2 separate regions of the Homo sapiens genome follow, and region 1 is linked to region 2. Evidence: promoter capture Hi-C in human tissues and cell types (Jung and others, 2019). All regions are on one chromosome and are shown on one strand. The core of a region is centred on a gene start or on the middle of the fragment in contact, and the rest is flanking DNA. Distances in the headings are between cores, read along the strand shown. Region 1 has its middle 35 kb from the start of GABRA5. Region 2 holds the start of GABRA5 (gamma-aminobutyric acid type A receptor subunit alpha5).

The links. Contacts are between HindIII fragments. The study calls those that stand out against the background at their distance.
Region 1: a fragment that was not itself captured here is called in contact with the fragment with the promoter of GABRA5 in region 2 in 2 of the 25 tissues and cell types used here (pancreas and stomach).

The regions. Positions count from the first base shown.
Region 1 is chr15:26,829,178-26,835,455 of GRCh38, reverse strand. No RefSeq gene overlaps it. Among named protein-coding and RNA genes, the nearest start is that of GABRA5, 35 kb to the left of the region's middle. The HindIII fragment of the contact is 5,676 bases long and covers 1-5,219 here.
Region 2 is chr15:26,865,732-26,871,741 of GRCh38, reverse strand. It overlaps GABRA5 (gamma-aminobutyric acid type A receptor subunit alpha5), which reads right to left and starts at 4,680. Exons shown (of 11, transcript NM_000810.4): 1 at 4,631-4,680; 2 at 2,949-3,013; 3 at 2,408-2,567. The coding sequence starts at 2,493. The HindIII fragment of the contact is 20,920 bases long and covers 1-6,010 here.

The sequences.
Region 1 (6,278 bases), core at 1,132-3,631, 34 kb after region 2:
CAATAGCATTGAATGGGATAAAATACTTAGCAGTATATTAAGTCAAGAAAGTGTAAGTCTTAACATACTGAAAACTACAGAACATAGTTGAAAGAAATTAAAGAGGACCTAAATAAATGAGAAGATATTCCATGTTCATGGATTGGAAATTTTAATACCATTAAGATGGATTTCTCCCCATATTCACTACAGATTCAGTGCAATCCCTATAAAAATTCCAACTGCCTCATTTTGCAGACATTTATGCATCCATCCTAAAATTCATATGGAAATGCAAGGGACCTCAAGTAGTCAAAATAACCTTGAAGAAGAGGAACAAAGATTGAGGACTCAAATGTCCTGGTTTCAAAACTTACTACAGAGCTACAATAATCAGAATTGTGTGATATTGGCATAAAGATAGGCATATAGATCAATGGAACCAGATTGAGAGTCCAGAAATCAATCCATGTATCTCTGGTCAATTGATTTTTGGCAAGGGTGCCAAGAGCATTCTGTGAGGAAAGAATAATCTTTTCAACAAATGGCACTAGAAAAACAGATATCCACATGCAAAAGGATGGATATCCATGTCACACCATATGCAACATTTAATTCAAAATATAGCATGTATAAATATAGGTGATAAAACTATAAAATTCCTTCAAAGAAATGTAGGTGTAAATATTTGTGACTTTGGATTAGGCAACAGTTTCTTAAATATGACACCAAAAGCACAAGTAATCAAAGGAAAAAAAAGCTAAATTGAGTTTCATCAAAATCAAAAGCTTTTGTGTATCAATGGACACTATCAAGAAAGTGACAAGTGGCCAGGCACCATGGCTCACGCCTGTAATCCGAACACTTTGTGAGGCCAAGGAGGGCAGACCATGAGGTCAGGAGATCGAGACCATCCTGGCTAACACGGTGAAACCCCATCTCTACTAAAAATACAAAAAATTAGCTGGACGTGGTGGCATGTGCCTGTAATCCTAGCTACTCGGGAGGCTGAGGCAGGAGAATCGCTTGAACCTGGGAGGCGGAGCTTGCAGTGAGCCGAGATCGCGCCACTGCACTCCAGCCTGGGCGACAGAGCAAGACTCCGTGTCGGAAAAAAAAAAAAAAATAGAATTTATCATGTGATACGGCAACTCCACTCTTAGGGATTTACATAAAATAATTGCAACCTTATGTTCATACAAACATATATGAACATATAGGACTTTTCATAGCAGGATTATTCATAACAGGCAAAAGGTGAAAACAACCCAAATGCTCCACAACTGAGGAAAGGATAAACAAAATGTAGTCCATCCATATAATTTGTTTCAGCCACAAAAAGTAATGAAGTACTGCTACATAGTAGAGTAAGGATGGATCTCGAAAACATTGCACTAAGTAAAAGAAGACAAACACACACACACACAAACACTACTTTATGATTTCATTTATATGAAATGTTCAAAATACGCAAATCTATAGTGACAGGAAGTAGATTAGTGGTTGCTAGGGAGTGGGAGAGAGGGGAATTTGGAAATACGGGTTTCTTCTGGAGTGTGGAAATATTCTGGAATTAGTAGCTGTGGTTGTACAACATTGTGAAAATACTAAAAATCACTGAGTCATAAACTTTAAAATAGTTAAAATGATGAATTTTCTGTTATGGGAATTTTATATGAATAAAAGAAACAAATACAAAACTCTTAGTAAACTACTAGAAAGGGACCTCCTTAACCCGTTCCAGGGCATCTACAAAAAAATCTACAGGTATCATCAATCTAAATGGTGAAAGAATGAATGTTTCCACCCTTAGCAGACCACCTTAGGAGGCCCCTTCCTTATACTGCTAATTGACATTTTCCTGGAAGCTGTACCCAGTGCAGTAAGTCAAGAATAGACCTACATATTGTAAATGAAAAGGTAAATCCTGTCTGTACTCATGTGACATAATTGTCTAGAAAATTCAAAAGGATCTACAGAAAAACTTCAAGAAAAAGTGAGTTCAATCAGATCTTATGAAACACGGTCAATATACAAAAGTCCATATAATGTCTACAGGTTAGCTATTGACAAATGGATTTTTTCATTTTAAAAATATAATTTATATTTTTAAATTCTTAGGTATATATTTAACAAAATACATGCAAAGTCTGTACGCGTATAAAGAGGTAATGGAAGAAATCAAAGAATACCTAAATAAAGGGAGATATATCATGTTTGTGGCTTAGAAGATTCAATATGTTAAAATGTCAGGTTTCCCCAATTTGATCAATAGATGCAATGTAATTTCAGTTGAAATCTGAGCAAGGTTTCTAGTGATATTTCTAGTGATATTCTAGTGATATTAAGCTGATGCTTAAATATAAGGAATGCCAAAGAAAACAGAATAGCTAATACAAACATTAAAAGTAACAAATTTGGAGGATTCGCACTACCTGATTTCAAGATTCATAACAAAATCACGATAATCAAGAGAGAGTGGAATTGATGAAAATTTAGAGACATAGATCGATGAAACAGAGTAGACAGTCTAGAAATACACCAACACAAGTCAGGTCAACTGACTTACGAGAAAAGTGCAAAAACAATTCAATTGAGAAATAATGGAATTTTCTACAAACGGTGCTGGAACAATAGAATATTCATATTTTAAAAAAACACCTTACATAAATTGATGTAATTAAAAGTGATCATGGATCTAAATATAAAATAAAAGGTGGTAAAACTTCTAGCAGAAGGAATAATAAACATCAGTGAAAGTCTGGTTTTGGAAGAAGTTAATTGTAGATATGATGTTAAAAGCACGATTCATAAAAGGAAAAAATGATAAATTGGCCTTCAGCAATTTTTGCCCTTTGAAATACACTGTTAAAACGAAAAGACACGCCACAAGCTGGAAGAAAATATTTTTAAGCCACATATCTGATAACCGAATTTATCAGATACAGATTCTACCCAGAATATACAAGAAGCTCTCAAAACTGAAAAATAAGAAAACAACACACTTTTTTAAATGGGCAAATGATCTGAACAGACATTTTACCTAAGAGGATACATGAATGGCAGGTAAGCATATAAAAGATGTTCAACATCACTAGTTATTGGAGAAATGCATAGTAACCTACAATGCGATACAATTACGCATCTACTGGACTGGCTAAAACTTAAAAACAAAACAAAACAAAACAAACAGAACAAAAACAAGAACTGAAACCATCAAGTCCTGGTGAGGATGCAGAGAAACTGGATCTCTCACACATTACTGTTCGCATCCAAACCGGGCCACACAGCAGGAGGTGAGCGGTCAGCAAGAGAACTTTGTACTTATCTGCCTCGCTTTGCTCACATTACTACCTGAGCTCCGCCTCCTGTCAGATCAGCAGCTGCATTAGAGTCTAATCTAATGCAACTTTGAAAGTCCATTTGGCAGAGTCTTTTAAAATTAAACACACATTTACCACCTAACCCAGGAAAGCCACTTCCAAGTATTTATACAAATGGAATGAAAATTTACATTCACACAACCTTTTTGGCACCAGGGACTGGTTTCATTGAAGACAATTTTTCCACCGATTAGGGCAGGATGCGGTGGGGAGGATGGTTTCAGGAGGATTCAAGCACATTACAGTTATTGTGCACTTTATTTATATTATTATTACCTTGTAGTAATGGAATAATTATACAGCTCACCATAACGTAGAATCAATGGGAGCCCCAAGCTTGTTTTCCTGCTGAGAGGTGACAGCGGGTTGGCAGTCCTCATAGCCGTCGCTCGCTCTCGGCGCCTCCTCTGCCTGGGCTCCCACTTTGGCGGCACTTGAGGAGCCCTTCAGCCCACTGCTGCACTGTGGGAGCCCCTTTCCGGGCTGGCCAAGGCCAGAGCCGGCTCCCTCAGCTTGCAGGGAGGTGTGGAGAGAGAGGGGCAAGCGGGAACCGGGGCTGCGCGCGGCGCTTGCGGGCCAGCTGGAGTTCCGGGTGGGCGTGGACTTGGCGGGCCCCACCCTCGGAGCAGCCAGCCGGCCCTGCCGGCCCCGGGCAATGAGGGGCTTAGCACCCAGGCCAGCCGCTGCGGAGGGTGTACTGGGTCCCCCAGCAGTGCCAGCCCACCGGCGCTGCGCTCGATTTCTCACCGGGCCTTAGCTGCCTTCCCGCGGGGCAGGGCTCGGGACCTGCAGCCCGCCATGCCCGAGCCTCCCACCCCGTCTAGGGGCTCCTGTGCCGCCGGAGCCTCCCGGATGAGCGCCGCCCCCTGCTCCACGGCGCGCAGTCCCATCGACCACCCAAGGGCTGGGGAGTGCAGGTGCACGGAGCGGGACTGGCAGGCCGCTCCATCTGCAGCCCTGGTGCGGGATCCACTGGGTGAAGCCAGCTGGGCTCCTGAGTCTGGTGGGGACGTGGAGAACCTTTATGTCTAGCTCAGGGATTGTAAATACACCAATCGGCACTCTGTATCTAGCTCAAGGTTTGTAAACACACCAATCAGTACCCTGTGTCTAGTTCAGGGCTTGTGAATGCACCAATTGACACTCTGTATCTGGCTTCTCTGGTGGGTCCTTGGAGAACCTTTGTGTCTAGCTCAGGGATTGTAAATACGCCAATCGGCACTCTGTGTCTAGCTCAGGGTTTGTAAACACACCAATCAGCACCCTGTGTCTAGTTCAGGGTTTGTGAATGCACCAATCGACACTCTGTATCTAGCTACTCTGGTGGGGCCTTGGAGAACCTTTGTGTCCACACTCTGTATCTAGTTAATCTAGTGGGGACTTGGAGAACCTTTATGTCTAGCTCAGGGATTGTAAACGCACCAATCAGCGCCCTGTCAAAACAGACCAGTCGGCTCTACCAATCAGCAGGATGTGGGTGGGGCCAGATAAGAGAATAAAAGCAGGCTGCGGGAGCCAGCGGTGGCAACCTGCTGTGGTCTCCTTGCACAGTGTGGAAGCTTTGTTCTATCGCTCTTTGCAATAAATCTTGCTACTGCTCACTCTTTGGGTCCACACTGCTTTTATGAGCTGTAACATTCACCGCGAAGGCCTGCAGCTTCACTCCCGAAGCCAGCGAGACCACAAGCCCACCGGGAGGAACGAACAACTCCAGAAGCACCGCCTTAAGAGCTGTAACACTCACCGCCAAGGTGTGCAGCTTCACTCCTGAGCCAGCGAGACCAGAAACCCACCAGAAGGAACAAACTCCGAACACATCCAGACATCAGAAGGAACAAACTCCAGACGCGCCACCTTAAGAGCTGTACCAGTCACTGCAAGAGTCCTCGGCTTCATTCTTTAAGTCAGTGAGACCAAGAACTCACCAATTCCGGACACACTGCAACTAGACAGTCCTATCTGGGGGCGATGGGAGACAGTGACAGATCATCAGGCATTAGAGTCTCATAAGGAGCATACAAAGTAGATCCCTTGTGTATGCAGCTGACAACAGGGTTCATGCCACCACAAGAATTTAATGCCCCCACTGATCTACAGGAGGCAGAGCGCTGGTGGTAATGTGAGTGATAGGGGACGGCTGTAAATACAGATAAAGCTTCACTCCCTGGCTTGGGGAACACTCATCGGCTGTTTGGCCCAGTTTGTAACCATGGCCTGGTGCATGGCTGGTGGTTGGGGACCACTGCTGAACATGAAATATGTAGCACCTTTTTTCATGCTTTGCAAAGACTGAAACAACCCAGACAGCCTTCAGCAAATGAATGGATAAACAGTCTCTAGTGCATCCATAACGTGGAGCACTATTTAGTCGTAAGAAAGAAACATTTATTCATTCATGCAACATGGATGGATCTGGAGTGAATTTTGCTTAGTGAAAGAAACCAAACCCAAATGACTGTATGTTGTTTGATTCAACTGTTACAGTGTTTTGGAACAGGTAGTACTATATCAGAGAACTGATCGGTGGTTGCTCGCAGCTGAAGATGAAGGATTGATGACAGCCAAAAAAGGCCATGCAGGGATAATTGTGTGTTTGTGTGTGTGTGTGTGTGTGTGTGATGAATTGTCTATTCTGTATGGTACTTTGCTGATGGATGTATAACCCTAGGCATCTGCGAAAACCCATGGAACTATACACCACAAAGAGTTAAGTGCATATTTTATTCCAATTTTTAAAATCAACGAGGATATTGATAGAAGCCAAGGTCGAAGCAAACTGTGACCAATGAATCTAACTCTATTACAAATAAATGTTGTAGTCATGTTGAAGGAAAAGGCTGCATTGATTGTCTCAGGTGTGAGGACCCTTAGAATGCTGAGAAGAAACTGTCAGTCCTTTTCAGGATGGCCCGACGT
Region 2 (6,010 bases), core at 3,431-5,930:
AAAGAAATTGTGATCATGTATTGGGTAGGAAAAAAGCACAGTACCAAACTGCACAGCCTGATCCCAACTGTATAAAAAACATGCACAGAAGCAAGGGGAAGTCAGTGCACCAAATGGGAAGCATGGTTGTCTCTGGGTGGTGGAATTAAAGAGATTCCTTTCATTATCGACTTCTGTATCGCACATATTTGCTGCAATTAGTCGGTGCTGTTTTATGATGGATTACTGGCCATATACCTAAAAGATTAAAAACTGCTCCAACAGTTAATTTTCTGGAAAGTTTGAGGGGTATTTTACCACTTACTCAGTGTTAGCTTTCAGAGACTAAGATACCCCTCTATTTTGAAGATGACCTCAGCAAGCTACAGAACTAAATAAGAAAGCATACCTGCTTCTTGGGGCTAAACTACTTACACACATTACTTCCTATTTCAGACCTGCATCTACCAGGGAGTGAAACCATTTCATGCTTATTCAATGCAAATTCATAATACATTTGGCTAAGATTTTGTTTCTTTGTTTGTTTTGTTTTGTTTTGTTTTGTTTTTGAGACAAAGTCTTGCTCTGTCGCCCAAGCTGGAGTGCAGTGGCATGATCTCAGCTCACAGCAACCTCCACCTCCCGGGTTCAAGCGATTCTCCTGCCTCAGCCTCCCAAGTGGCTGGGATTACAGGCATGTGCCACCAGGCCTGGCTAATCTTTGTATTTTTAATAGAGATGGGGTTTCACCATGTCAGCCAGGCTGATCTCGAACTCCTGACCTCAGGCGATCCGCCCCCCGCTTGGCCTCCCAAAGTGCTGGGATTACAAGCATGAGCCATCACGCCTGGCCTAGCCAAGATATTTTAAAGAAAATATAAGTTTCCAATCCTGATATATTCTTCACCACCAAAATGCTACCAAATATATGCGGTATATCAAACAAACCAACTACCTAATGCATTAGATGACAAATTTGAATATTCTGTGCGATTTCACTTATGTACAGACATTTCATTCAGAAGAACATTGTGAACATGCTAGTTTACAGGCTTTGGCAGCTGCAGAGAACTTGTAAAGGAAAACATTCATTTAATAGATAAAAAAAAATCTGAAGGCATGGGAAGGGAGGCATCCACTCAAGATAAGCAAGGCAAGAGCCACGGCCAATGCTCTTTCCCAAGGGAATACTTAGAATGGCTCAAAGGGCTGAGACATGCCACACACCTGTTCCCGTCAGTGTGGTTAGAGTGCACACACTGCCTGGCTTCTGTTGGTGAGGGACAGGCATCTTCCTTAGCTCAGCTCTGCTGGACAAAGTCTCAGCTGATGGCTCAGGCTTGCCCCGGGGTGGATGTGGACTAAAGTCCCAATGCTGTCTTCTACCAGCCACTGCACCTGAGCAAGGCCCCCACACCCACCCCTTCCTCTGCACAGAAGAGTCAGAAGAGCAGAAAATGTACAGAGGACAGACAGAAAACATCATGGCCCTGGGGATGTCTTCTTTCCCCCCAGATGGGAAGGCTGTCTACAGGCTGTTGCCAAGCCACTGGATATTCCCCATCCTGTGATTATTTACATAAATGTGGATAGGCTGTGAAACCTCTGGACCCCATTTTTGCAGCACTAACGCTTGGCAACTTTTGTCCTGACATTTAATTTCTTAATTATATGCCATCAACTTCAAGTTACAATCCTTTTGATTAACCAGAACAATTCTAGGGCACGGGTCAGAACAGGAACAGCAGCCTCATAAGAACATTCATCCACGATGTGGGTTATCACTAGTTTCATGAAAAAAAAGGTTAGAGTTGGTATGCGGATACTAAAGGCTAAAATGAAAGAGGGGTTACTGGAAATGATAGTGCCAGAACCTCAGGGGTGTCTTTCAGATCTTCAGGCACCTGTGGTTTATGGTGTCTGCACCTGCATTCAGATGGTCACAGTTCTAGGGCCTTGGCTCAGGCCAGGACCATTGTGAGTCCTTTTCAATGCCAAGTAGCATAGGCCTGGCTTTCAAGGCAACTTTGATTGCATAATGGAACCGTGGAGGGCAACTGAAATGTTGGCACTGCCTTGTCTAACAAGCAGTGACTGTCCTTCATGCATGTGAACTCCTGAATCTTGTTTTAACCTGAGTAGGAAGAATCACAGCTGACTCGGATATCATCTTCAGCTTCCATTTCTGAAAACATAATCTGCCTTTTTTTCTCTGACTCACTTCAGAGACCCCACGTGAGGAGCAGCCTTGCTCAGGAAGAAAGCGTGGGTCAGGGCAATGACTTCATTTATTTACAACAAGTGAAGGGCTTGGGACTGCAATGGTGGCAGGCGAGGACTTGCTCAATGGATGTGCTGCTCCCGTAACATGTCTGAAAGGCACCAGTGTCCCTAACATCATAAAATAAAAGCACAGATGGTAACTTACCCAAAGTGACTGGATAAGTTCATGGAAATACAAAAGAGAAGGAGGTTTTTGATCATGATAAAACCAGAGAACATTCCATTGTCCATTCCCAATAAGAATAGTAGTTGAAGCAGGTGAATATGGAGGAATAACTCTTCCCTTCTCCAGCTTGTTCTTGAAGCTGAAAAGCACACAAAGCGGGGAAGCACGTGAACATCAATGCTGTTGTGTCACAGTTCCTGGAATCAAATCACACTGCTATCACAACAATTTGCAAAGAAAGGAGCCCGCTGTCCTTCCCCAGGACAGCTGCACACCAGGTATTTTCCATCACCCTCACTGGGCAGTAAGTTGGAGCATAAAAATAAGTAACAAGAGGCTTATTTTTACTTCTACTCAGGGTGCAGAATCACCCTAATTCGTTGTTTTCCACTCAAATACTCTGTTTTGTTTTTTAGCATGTTATCAAATAAACCATTAGTCCAATTATTAAAATAAACGCTGTAGTTATCTGAGCGACTGTATTTTGTATCCGTCAAATCCACAAGTGTAGTAATTTTACCTTTCTGAAATATCTGCCACGCCACGCGTTCAAAGCCAGCAAGCTACTCCTCTCTCTGCAAGGCACTGAGAAAGTACGTGGAAAGAAGTGGGGAAAAGCACATTTAAGAAACAGGTTTTCTGCAGGATCACAATACTGTGACAACTGCCTATAAAAGAGTGTGGCTACTTTCCCGGCATTCGGTCCCCGTGACTACATAACTTAAGCACTGCATCTGTGGAAGTCTCTCCACTCAATGCTGGACCCTAATTAATGTATTTGAGATCCAGGCAGACATTGTCCCTGGGCTCAACGACTAACCTTCCTGAAAACACGCATTTCTCAGTATGCGCATAACGCAAATAGGTGCTCACAGGCATCCGAACAGTATGCTTCGAAAAGAAGCATTTTCCCAAGAAGCCCCCCCAACCCCCATCCCCCGCAAACTCCGGAATTGGGAGACACAACAGGTACTTCCACCTCGGAAGCGAAGGCCTTCTGCGACTCCTGCCAAGAAGGGCAGGGTGCCATGCGGTGGTCGCCTGGGCGCGTCCGGGGGGCTCGTCGCGGGGCCCGGGCCAGAGCCAGGCGGCGAGCACGCGGCGCTGCATGCGGGAAACCCGGGCGGCGCCTCCCGCCGCCCCTCAGCCCCGAGCCAGGGACCCCCAGGAGAGGCTGCGCTCCCACGACCCTCCGGACCCCCACAGAGGCTCACCAGGGCCGGCGCGCCAGGGCAGGTGGGCGCGGGGGCTGCACTGCGGAGCCGCAGCCTGGGTCGCCCTGGCACCCGCGGTCGCCACCCGCGCGGTCCGCAGCGGCACGCCGAGGGTCTCCAGCTCCCCGGCCCTCCCCGGCTCGCTCCCGGCTTTCGCAGACTTCCCCTGCTCCTGCCCCGGGTACGAGCCAAGCGCTCCGCCAGGCAGCGCCTTCCTCCTGGGCTGGGAGCGCGCGGTGCAGCAGCGACTCCAAGTCCCCTGGCCTCGAGCAGCCCGCGCGACACGCGCGCGACACCCCCGCGGGGTCCGAGTCCACCCCGCGAGCAGCGCCGGGACGCCGCGCGCCTCAGAGCCCCGGGGCTGACGCTGGCTTTCCAGGTGGGCGATCTCACCCCTCCGGCTCCCGTGATGGTGGCAACGGGTGTCCCCCACCCCCAACCGGTCACCGCGCCCTGGTGCCCCGTCCGGCAGGGATGAGCCGCCCGGACCCCGCTCTCTCCCGCGCCCGGCTTCAGCCCCGCAGTCGCCAGGGTAAAGTTTGCGCTCTGGCCTGGCTGCGCGCCCCGCCTGCTCTGCACCTCTCCTCCCCGGCCACGCAGCCTGCCGCTCAGGCGCCCCGAGGAGAAGGGTGCGGACCGAGCCGGGGCGGCCGGTCCTCTTCCCCGCTCGCGTCCTCTTACCCCACTGCCCCGGCCCAGCGCGCCCAGGGCTCACCCTGCGCGCCGGCCCCGGGAGGCGAGCCGTCGGTGAGGATGCATCCTCCTTCTCCTCCGCCTGCTCTCGCCCGGCTGGCAGGCGCGGAAGGCCGGTGCGGCGTCACCGCCCCATGCTGCCAGCGCGAACTTCCCCGGCACTCCCGGCGGAGCGGCTCTTGCGCCCCGCGCTCCCGCCGCCGCCCTGCAGCTCCGCTCCGCGCCGCGCCCCGGGCCGCGCGCCGCCCGCCGCAGAGCCCCCCAGCGCCCCCGGCGCACTCGCGCCCGCTCTCACCTCGCCCGAGCGCCACATGTCGTCTCTGGGCTGGAGGATCGGCCCTCTGCAGAGGTGCTCCGGTAGAGGCCGCCAGACGCTCAGCAAATGCGCCCTTGGCCGAGCTGGGCGGAGGGGGAGGGCGCAGGGCCCCCGGCTCGGCCTGCAAGGGGAGAGGCCCTGTTCTGCTGAAGTTTCTCCAGGGCCCTCAACAGCATCTTCGGCGCCTCGTGTAGTCACCACCGCCCGCTTGTAGAGCAGGGATGGGAGGGCAGTGTCAGCAGTCGGGTGATAGAGGCCTGGACTCCGACAGCTTTGCTCCCTAGAGCCGGCCCCAACGCCTCCCTGCCCAGGCCTGGGTCCTTCCCGGGTGCTCCATGGCACCCCTTACATGCGCATCTCTTAGGCGCTTCTGAAAGAAGCTGGCCTGTGGACATTCTTTTCATCTCACTCATAGACAGGAATGCATAACTACGGGAGGGAAAGCCAGGGTCACATTGGACTCGATTAGAATGAAATCCTTACCTAACGCAGTGTATATCTGGGGGTTTTCTGAAGTTCCATTTCTTGACAACAAGCCGCAGTGGCAAACGGGAAAGGGCCAGGAGCCCTGGGGGCTGCAGGTCGGAGAGCGCCTCTGGGGTGACGGGGCGGGATCTCCCCAGCAGGGCTTCCGAGCCACGTCGGGTCACTGCCTCATTAGCCACGTACATGGGGTCTTACTATGGTCATTACGTCGGTGTGTCGTCCGTCCTAGTGGTGCAGTTCCTGGGAGGTGAGGGTGGCATTAATGACAACTGCGCGGCAGCAGGGCCCCTTCAAACAACACAAGTAAGAGCGCATCGTCTTGGGTTTGCCAGGTCTTGCTTCCTCAGGAGGTGGGGGACTCTCGACTATAACACCCAGTGGAAAACGTTCAAGACTCAAAGGAAAGCCACTGAAAACGTGATGGGGAGGTTTACTTACACCATTGTCCCATTCCTTTTGTGAAACTGCATTATTCATAATCTCTTTTAACAGAATAATGGTAAGTAAAGGCAAATTCCTAACTCCCCTCCAGGAAAGATCTTTGACCTTCCAGTGTAGGAAGCCTCTCATTTTTCCAGTTATCTCTAATACAGTGTATTCCAAATCTAAGTTACCTGTTAATACTTCTGCACATTCCAGAAATTCTGAAATTTTCTGAAAAACAAAACTTGTAAATCTATTCCAGGAATAGGACATAAATATACATAAATGTGCAAATATACAGGAAGTGTTTCTCTGAATATACATTTAGCCACACTATTAAATAACTGTTTCCAGTGGTTCTTCAGGAAATATGAATGAAATAAGATGCTAATTTGAATTTTCTAATTCTAAAATGGATCACTGAACGTATGCATTTCTTCATTTTCTAAT